Regions from separate parts of the Homo sapiens genome. Here regions 1 and 2 are each linked to region 3. Evidence: promoter capture Hi-C in 16 types of primary human blood cells and fetal thymus (Javierre and others, 2016). All regions are on one chromosome and are shown on one strand. The core of a region is centred on a gene start or on the middle of the fragment in contact, and the rest is flanking DNA. Distances in the headings are between cores, read along the strand shown. Region 1 overlaps NLRC4 (NLR family CARD domain containing 4). Region 2 overlaps SPAST (spastin). Region 3 holds the start of BIRC6 (baculoviral IAP repeat containing 6).

The links. The method cuts DNA at HindIII sites, captures the fragments that hold promoters and counts their contacts. A CHiCAGO score of 5 or more calls a contact.
Region 1: a fragment that was not itself captured here is called in contact with the fragment with the promoter of BIRC6 in region 3 in 1 of 17 cell types (M2 macrophages); the score reaches 5.0 in M2 macrophages.
Region 2: a contact is called between a fragment that was not itself captured here and the fragment with the promoter of BIRC6 in region 3, in 1 of 17 cell types (monocytes). The highest score is 6.1, in monocytes.

The regions. Positions count from the first base shown.
Region 1 is chr2:32,225,459-32,228,730 of GRCh38, reverse strand. All of the region lies in intron 8 of NLRC4 (NLR family CARD domain containing 4), which reads left to right. Among named protein-coding and RNA genes, the nearest start is that of NLRC4, 38 kb to the left of the region's middle. The HindIII fragment of the contact is 5,652 bases long and covers 1-3,272 here.
Region 2 is chr2:32,129,392-32,132,674 of GRCh38, reverse strand. All of the region lies in intron 9 of SPAST (spastin), which reads right to left. Among named protein-coding and RNA genes, the nearest start is that of SLC30A6-DT, 35 kb to the left of the region's middle. The HindIII fragment of the contact is 3,991 bases long and covers 1-3,283 here.
Region 3 is chr2:32,355,290-32,358,453 of GRCh38, reverse strand. BIRC6 (baculoviral IAP repeat containing 6) reads right to left here and starts at 1,431. Exons shown (of 74, transcript NM_016252.4): 1 at 968-1,431. The coding sequence starts at 1,292. RefSeq lists enhancers at 221-733, 1,248-1,760 and silencers at 985-1,214, 1,375-1,744. The HindIII fragment of the contact is 6,861 bases long and covers 1-1,940 here.

The DNA.
Region 1 (3,272 bases), core at 716-3,215, 130 kb after region 3:
GTTAAATCCTGGGCCCAATCATTCTGCTGTATAGATCCCGCTATCATATTTTATTTTCCAAAAGCTCTTTCTTAGCATCTTATTGTTGCTGAGTAGATGCAGTCTACTGAAAAACTTAGGATCTCTGAAAAACTTAGGTCTTTGGAGTTTGATTTTTCTTGTTTTCTACAGTGCCTGATTTCTTTGGGAGTTGTTTTGGCTTTTAGTCTCAGTCTTCCTTGTGGGAGGCTGTTGTCAAATGTCTGATAATCCTGCACTGTCCTCTTCACATTTTAGAGGGAGACACAAGTTGATAGGGAGTTCTGTGTGTCTAAGGGAGGCGGTGAATTTTTGACAGGCTAACTCCACTAGGGGGTGATTGGGCAAGCAAAATGGCCCCTTCTTTGTAGGGCCTTTTCCCGGGGGGCAGTTCCATTTCTCCTAAGAATCCTCCAGTCTTCCTCCTGGAGCATATAAGCCCAATTGCAAGTGTTCTGGGAACAAAGTGGAGTGGGAAAGCCTATTGCTTTTGTGTGCTCCCAGGGTACCCTGACCTACCATAGCACCCACCACCCATCTAATTACTTTATAATGCATGTCTTCACACTATTTTGTAAGCCCATTTAGACAGGGACCATGTCTGTCGTTTACACATATCCCCAGCACCCAGCATAATCCGCAGCACATAGTAGCACTAAAGATGTTGCTGAATGAATAAACAGTGAGAACTCTGGTACTCGTTCAGGTGAACTACAGGACAACACAAATGAAGAGTTGTGTTTGGGATACAGGAACCCCCAAGAATCAGAACCCTTCTACCCAGGGCATCTGAGATTTTTCCTGGAATTCCAATCAAGCCATTTGCACTCTCCACAGCCCACATACAGCCTATGGCTCTAAATGTCATGGATTCTGTTTCTCTTGGATCTAGTCTGCTCCTCATAACATAAGCACTGCAGATTAAATGAACAAAAGGCATGCCCTTGGCTTATGACAAATGTTGTTTGTTCTTGGTTCCTGCACTAGCACACATTCCAATAATTATCTAAGAAACTCTCTTAAATTGATGATAAGATCCTTATACCTTAGTAGATAACCACTATAAATTGCTCACCCTGTGAGGGTGGAATGGGCTTTAAATTCTTCTTAAATTCCTTTTAGGTGGTGAAAATATGTTCTGCTAGCTGAGAAGGAGAAAAAAAGTTGATCTTTGGGGAAAGAGCCTTAAATAGACACACAACTGGCAACCAGCATTTGGACTGAGTGCATGCCATGCTGGGAAGCATATGGAGAAGGGGCAAAGGCAGAAAGGACATGAACATGAGATGGAAGAGAGAGCAGGGAGAAAGCCATCCTCCAAGGAACAGAGGAGGTGGAAGGCAGGGGAAAGTAAGGACCTAGGTACTATTTGGGCTGGGCATAGGCTACGCTGTGATAACAGAGACCCAACTATACCATGGCTTACAGAAGGCAGAACTTGATTCTCTATCATGTAACAGTCCAGAAATGAGCAGTCCAGGCAGGTGGGGTGGTTTTCCTCTGTGCAGTCTTTCAGGCCCAGACCCCTACTTTTTTTTTTTACTCCTCTATTCCTTAAGAGTGTTATTTTTGACTTTATGGCCATAGCTAGGTCACTGCCCTGTGATCATTTCAACCTAGTAGAAGAGGGGAAAAGCGGAAAAGTGACATGGAAGTTGCACACATCACTTCTGCCTATACTTCCTTGGCAAAAATTTAGCCACACCTAATAGCAAGGGAGGTTGGGATATGAGTGGCCATATGCCGAAATAAAACTCTATTAACTATGGAATAAGGAGAGACAGTTTTGGGAACAACTAGCAGTCTGTCTCACTTTTCTTCTCTTTTTTTTTTTGAAATGGAGTTTCACTCGTTACCCAGGCTGGAGTGCAATGGTGTGATCTCTGCTCACCGCAACCTCTGCCTCCTGGGTTCAAGTGATCCTCCTGCCTCAGCCTCCCGAATAGCTGGGATTACAGGCATGCACCACCACGCCTGGCTAATTCTGTATTTTTACTAGAGACGGGGTTTCTCCATGTTGGTCAGGCTGGTCTCAAACTCCTGACCTCAGGTGATCTGCCCGCCTTGGCCTCCCAAAGTGCTGGGATTATAGGCATGAGCCACCGCACCCGGCCTCTGTCTCACTTTTCAAATTAATAAAAGTGGCAAAGAAGGCCCAAAGATGGTGTCAGTGACACTGACCATGGGTAAGAGACATGAAGGCAGAACCCTGTGAATCATCTCCTTACCTGGCTTTGCCCACTTTAGCCGCTAGCATCTTGACCACGGTCAGGCAGGGCCAATCACTTTAGGTGTCTGTAAAGAAGAACCTGAAGACCTTTCGAAACTCAAGACCTTATGATGGTGATAAAAGCATTGGCTGACATTGACTAAGGACACACTCTAGAATGTACTTAGTTGCACTGAACAAACTACACAAGGCCATGCAGTGACATCAGACACCAAATTCACAGATCTCCTCTCACTACGGAGCTGGTAAACACCTTTACTGAAAGTGGGTAAGGGTATAGTTTCAGTGCATAACTAGGTTGACCTCACCCACGTAAGCTGGTCGGACAAGACTGTCCATTTCTGTCATTAAGCCCTCATTACTGGTAGCAGATACCTTTTAGTCTTTGCTTGCTAACCTTAAGGTTGTACAGCACCGAATCTTTCCTTCTTTAACTTGAACTCTTTAGTGGTCTTCTCACTGAGACAATGGAAAGGAACTTTTAAAACCTCTTTTCCTACTTGGAATCCAAACTGAATCATGGACCTTCATTTCCATAAGGGTCAGTTTCTGGAACATTATCTAATATTACACATCTCCCAAGAAACACAAGTTTAATATACAACAAATTAACCCTCCAAAGTTGGGTGAGGTACACTAAGACTAAGATGAGCTCGGATGAGCCGAGTAATGTGGATTGATAAACCAGGCATACATCTTCTGCATTTTGTGTGTGATACTCTGGAGTATAAACATGTAAGTAAGAGTTCCCATGTCCAGTCTGCCTGTCTGTCCACTCTGTACTTCAAGGTGAACTTAGTCATCCAGAAAGGGCCAGGTAGGTGGGTAGGGCTAACGCTTTGCACAATTTAATATGTGTAATTAACACAGAGCTAGTTTTGTGAAATCCTAATGTTGTATACTGGCCAATCTGTATGATGGTAAATAACCTGAAAGAAAGGTATTTTTTCTTATTGCAAGACTCACTTGGGTTCCAGTACCACCTAAACTGGTAACATGGGATAAAGAATGAACACTAAACTAT
Region 2 (3,283 bases), core at 308-2,807, 230 kb after region 3:
TCAGTTCTTATCTAGGCATACTGACAAACTGGCATGAGACCATAGAAAGACAACTAAAATAGTAACTATTCTGGGGACTGGAGGGAAGCAGATATAACATTAAGTTCCTATATATTTGAAAGGCTGTCTCATAAAAAAAAAAAAAGATTGAGTTTTGTTAAATCAAGTATGTAAAAATTAGAAAAAGCAGATTTCAGTTAGACATAAGGAAAAAATTGTATTAGATAGAACTGACAAAATGATAGACTAGACATTTCAATTTTCTTTTTCTTTTCTTTTTTTGAGATGGGATCTCACTCTGCCACCCAGGCTGGAGTACAGTGGCATGATCTCTCGGCTCACAGCAAACTCCACCTCCCAAGCTCAAGAAATCCTCCCACTTCAGTCTCCCAAGTGGCTGGGACCACAGGCACACGCCACCACGCCCGACTAATTTTTTGTATTTCTGGTAGAGACAGGGTTTCGCCATGTTGCCCAGCCTGGTCTTGAACTCCTGAGCTCAAGTGATCCACCTGCCTTGGCCTCCCAAAGTGCTGGGATTACAGGCATGAGCCACCACACCTAGCCTCAACTTTCTTAAAAGTAAACTTACTTCAAGATATTCAGGCAGTATCAGAATTGGGGGTTAAGATCATGAATGCTATGTTGTTTCTGAAAACATGAAGATGAAACAGTACTCTTGAAAAAAGTATGGATAAAAGAGAATGGTTGCTGTAGGCCGGGTGTGGTGGCTTACGCCTATAATCCAGCACTTTGGGAGGTAGATGCGGGCGGATCACAAGGTCAGGAGATCGAGACCATCCTGGCCAACATGGTGAAACCCCGTCTCTACTAAAATACAAAAATTAGCCAAGTGTCGTGGCGGGTGCCTGTAGTCCCAGCTACTCAGCAGGCTAAGGCAGGGGGATCACTTGAACCCGGGAGGCAGAGGCTGCAGTGAGCCGAGATCACGCCACTGCACTCCAGAGCAAGACTCCATCTCAAAAAAAAAAAAAAAAAAAAAGAGAATGGTTGCTGTAATATTTTTAATGAAAGGCCACACTCACTGGAGCTCAAATCCTAGTTTCCCACTTCCTGGTTATGAGATCCTGAGCAGATCACTGAATTCTGTAATTCCCTAATTAATAAAATAGAGCTATGAGAATAATATCTATACCTCATTATGATTACTCCACAAATATTTATTCAATACCTACTCACAGCCAACTACTGAAAATTGAAGTGAAGAACACATGGTGATAGTCTCTGCCCGCATGGAGACCATCTTCTAGTGGAGGTGACAGTGATATCAGATACAATTAAAATAATCCTATCAATGAATATGAATTGCAACTCCAGTGAGTATGAAAATGAGGTGCAAGTGGTGCTAGGAGAATAATAACGGGGAATAGTTTGGAGGGTCAGGGAAGGTTGTAACATTTCAACTGGTATCTGAAGAATAAGTACAAATTAACCAGGAGAAGATAGTGTTCCTGAGAAAGGAAACTCCATGAAGAGGAATCCCATGACAGGAAAAAGCATAATAATATTTGAAGAACTGCCTAAGGAAGAGGGAGTCTTAGCAAACAGACTTCAAAAACTATGGGTCCAACACCAAGGCTATCTCTATCATAGTGATGGAGGCTACTTTAGTCCAATGCCATAACAACTATGGTCAACATGTCAAGTTTGCTTTAACTCACTGCTCATTATACAACCTTACAAATAAGTTTCCCATACATGTCTATAGGTACAGGGAGAGAACATGCTGTTCATAGCAGCTAGACAATTCTGATCTCATGTCTGTTCCGAAGACATAGATCTGCTCTTGGTGTACTGATAAAATCAAGTTTCTCTCGCTGCAAAACTGTAGACAGTAAAATTATCCTTTGAGCCTCTCATGGAAAGAGGCTATCTGGATATCATGTGGTGATCACCTCTGGATTCACCTCTGGATTTTTTTTTTTTTTTTTTTTTGAGACAGAGTCTCACTCAGTTGCCCAGGCTGGAGTGCAGTGGTGCCATCTCGGCTCACTGCAACCTCTGCCTCCTGGGTTCGAGCAATTCTCGTGTCTCAGCCTCCCGAATAGCTGGGATTACAGGCGCACACCACCAAGTCTGGCTAATTTTTGTATTTTTAGTCGAGACGGGGTTTTGCAATGTTGGCCAGGCTGGTTTTGAACTCCTGACCTCAGGTGATCTGCCAGCCTTGGCTTCCCAAAGTGCTGGGATTACAGGCGTGAGCCACCACACCTGGCCTCACCTCTGGATTTCGGTGCAACAAATGCTGACACTTCAAACTTTTACAGGTAACATGTTCTTTCATCAGAGATTCACATTTCAGTTTAAGTATGTTTGCCAAAACACTTTCAACCATAAAAGTTTGTTTTGTTTTGTTTTTGAGACGTGGTCTTGCTCTGACGCCCAGGTTGGAATGCATTGGCATGATCGTGGCTCACTGCAACCTCAACCTCCTTGACTCAAGTGATCCTCCCACCTCAGCCTCCTGATTTGCTGGGACCACGTATTCGCTGGCATGTCCAGCTAAATTTTTTATTTTTTGTAGAGATGGGGGTCTCACTATGTTGCCCAGGGTGGTATTGAACTCCTGGCCTCAAGCAATCCTCCTGCCTCAGTCTCCCAAAGTACTGGGATTACAGGAGTTAGCCACCATGCCCCCCCTTGTTTTGTTTCTTTGAGACAGGGTCTCACACTGTCACTCAGGCTGGAGTGCAGTGGCATGATCACAGTTCACTGCAGCCTCAACCTCTCAGGCTCAAGAGATCCTCTCGCCTCAGCTTCCTGAGTAGCTGGGACTACAGGTGCATGCCACCACACCTGGCTCTATTTTTTATTTTTGGAAGAGATGGGGTTTCACCATGTTGCCTAGGCTGGTCTCCAACTTCTGGGCTCAGGTGATCTTCCTGCCTCAGCCTCCCAAAATGCTAGGATTATAGGCATGGGCCACTGTGCCCGGCCAATCATAAAGGTTTTGATAAAGGCAAGCAGAGACTAAGGTATCATTGGGAGGGGGAGGGGGCAACCAAGAGAAAGGGAGAGAGGGAGAAAGACAAAGCAGTGTAAGGTTTGACAGAAACTACTTCACAGTTTTGCAATGCACCAGTTATATTTACACACTAGTTCTGCACACCAGACAAATTACTCTCTTTAAGCACTGTAGTTATGCTTGCCCTACCCCAAAACTAGACTGAACACTTCTTTGAATAATACTATAGGGTCAGCAGAGGGTGAATGGAAAAAGAAAACAAAATTATAAACAATCAAAAGAAAGCAGGGAAAATCT
Region 3 (3,164 bases), core at 182-2,681:
ATCTCCGCCAAATCTAACTCAGCCAGGGCCATTCCAAAACCACTCCAGTCCGTCCACTGAGCATACACCTCACGCATCTGAAAGTCCCGTCCCTGGACCAAGGTTTACGCCACCCAGAAGTGCTCTCCTCCAATGGTGAGACTCAGACACACCTTCAAATCCTAATTTTCGGCTCGCTGTGGGAAAACAAGTAGAGACAGCCTGAAGTTACAAACCCAAAGGAATCTATTTCATACACCACAGGTCCTGACTTTCTCGTCACTGGGGCGTAGAAGTTGGAAGCCCCGAGCAAGGGGACCAGGTCTAGTCGTCTTCGGCGTCCGCAGAGTCCTACAGTCGTCGACCAAGCAGTTCAGGCAGCTGGCCCGCCTACTTCCCTCCCCACCCCCACCACGACCCACCCCACCCCCACCCCACCCCCACCCCCACGCTGGGCGCACAGCCCGCGGTCTGTCCCCCGCACTGCGGGACCTGAGAACAGCAGACTGCCGGCTCCTCTCCCACAAGGGAGGGCTTGGTTGCCGGCTCAGACGCTCCCCGCCCCTCGCCTCCGGCCACCAGCCTCTCCGCCCGGGGTCAACCCTTCCAGCCTTTCGCTCTCATCTAACCGGACGCAGGACCGACAGCCTCTCCAGGGCCTACCCGGGCCTCGCTTCCTCCGGTGCCAAGCTCCAAGGTCTCCTCACCTCTCGCGGAGGACCAAGCCAGACCGGACGCTCCAGGCCCGAAAGGCAACTCCCCTCCCACCACTCCCTGACTCGCCGGTCTTTCCTCCCAACTGCAGCCGCTGAAAAAGCCAAGTCCTAAGGTCCCCCTCCATCAGCTTCCGGGCCTCCCTTCACGGCTGGGCCCGAACCCCCAGCCCTGCCCTCTCGCCATCTCGCTTCCCCGAGTCGCGAGGCCGAGCCCCGGGGCTGGACGGCTTCTTTCCCCGGCTTCGCGCCCGCCCGGCGTGCGGAAGACTCACCACTGAGCGCGGAGGCCTGCAGTGTGGCCCCCGAGGTGCCGTCGATGACTTTGATGGTCCCGCGGCTAGTGACGGCCAGGATGGCGTTGAGCGCAGGGTGGTAGGACAGGCTGTGCAGCCCGTCGGCGTCGCAGTGCATGCAGCCGTCCCGCAGCACCAGCCACTCTGAGACCCCGGCCGCCCCCGCCCCCGCCGCCGAGGAGCAGCCGGGGCCCGAGGCCGCCGCAGCCGCAGCCGCCATCTTCCGGCCTGCGCTCAGCACAATCACACTGGGAAGCGGCTCAGTGACAGTCCCGGGAGGTGCAGCACCACCACCAGTCACCATCCGGGGCCAGGGGGCAAGCCGAGCGCGTTAGCCGGAAGTGAAGTCAGGCGCCCGCACGCACGCGGAACGTCGATCGCCCGGCCGGAGGGGCCAAACTCGGAGGGAGGCTGACGGGAGAGGGGGAGAAGCAGGGAGGGAGGCGGGGCCCGGGGCGCGGGCTGGAGGCCGGCGGGTGGAGCATGCGCGGGAGGGCTCGCGCGTGCCACGCGCCGCGGGTCTGGCCAGTTCCGCGTCCGCAGCGTCCCAGTTTCTTCCTGTGAGCCTGGGGAGTGGCGGCTGCCGAGTCCGCCCCGCTCCTCGCGGGGGCAGGGGGAGGGGTTGGCCTCCGTGCATTTCCGCTAGGTGGGGACCCCCGCCCTTGCGACCTGTCCGGTACGCCCGGAGGCCTTTTGCAGCGGTTCCAGCTGCGCCTTGACCGTTCCCGGTACGCACGGTGCAGCTGTTCGGCCGTGGCCGGAAGCGGACCTCTGGGTCTCGGTCACGGCTCTGGTGTGAGAATAAACAATCAGAAGCCTCTCGTTTGGATTGGAAGGAACCGAGCGACCTTCCCAAACCTGTACCTTTTACCACGCCTGCCCTCCCCATTCCCAAGGCTTTCTGTTGAACAGAAGTACCAGATACGAGGTGCTGGAAGCGCATAGTTAAGCTTAGTTTCTCTATCCACATTCCAAACAACCCGAGTTACCGGAATTAATAGGAGTGTGGGTCTGTGTGAGTGTGTGGTGGGGTGTGTTGGAGGTCTAGAAAGGACTAATCAATTTACTAATCATCCCCCCTTGGAGAATTTTTTTAAAACTTTTTATTTTGAAATAGATTACAGTTGAAAATATACTACAGACCTCTGTGGTCTTTCTCTCCAAAAGCCATAACCCCTATCTAACTATGAGAAAACCATTTGACAAACCCAAACTGTAGGACATTATTTTTATAAAATACCTAAACACTACTCAAAGATAGTACAGAGAGATCCAATTTACTCTTTACCCAGTTTCCCCCAATGGTTGCATATTACATAATTCTAGTACAATCTCAAAAGGAGGGATTTGATAGTTGTATGATGTGTGTATAGTTCAATGTCATTTTATCACATGTAGACCTACGCACCATAGTCAAGATGCAGAGTTGTATGTTCTATATGTTTTGTGATCATTAGGTTATTTTGGAAAGAACTAGTTTTCCTTAAAAACCTAATCAAAGATCTGTTGTGAGGATTAAGAATCATTTGTAAAATGTGTAGAAGAGCATCTGACAAGTATATACTACGTGCTCAATAAAAATTATAAAAGTTAATTGCCCTCTCACATTCATGCGAACTTCCTTCAGGAAATCTTCATGGATTACCTGAACTACATCTTAAACTATTAGCCATCAGGCTACATCTGAAACACTTAGAGATTTGACTGTATTCCTCTCTTCTTGGGGGTCCCTAAAATACACTGAAGTTCCTGGGCCTGCCAGAGAGTGACATTCCTTACTCATCTGTGGTTCTTTTTTTTTTTTTTTTTTGGCTTTTTTGTTTGTTTTTGTTTGTTTATTGAGACGGAGTCTCACTCCGTCGCCCAGGCTGGAGTGCAGTGGCGTGATCTCAGCTCACTACAACTTCTGCCTCTTGGATTCAAGCAATTCTCGGCCTCAGCCTCCTGAATAGCTGGGATTACAGGCACCTGCCACCACGCCTGGCTAATTTTTTTTTTTTTTTTTTTTTGTATTTTTAGTAGAGATGGGGTTTCACCATCTTGGCCAGGTTGGTATTGAACTCCTGATCTCGTGATCCACCTGCCTCGGCCTCCCAAAGTGCTGGGATTACAGGTGTGAGCCCCCGCGCCCGGCCACTCAGGCCACTCACCTGTAAGTCTGGGAACAATCAGGCCA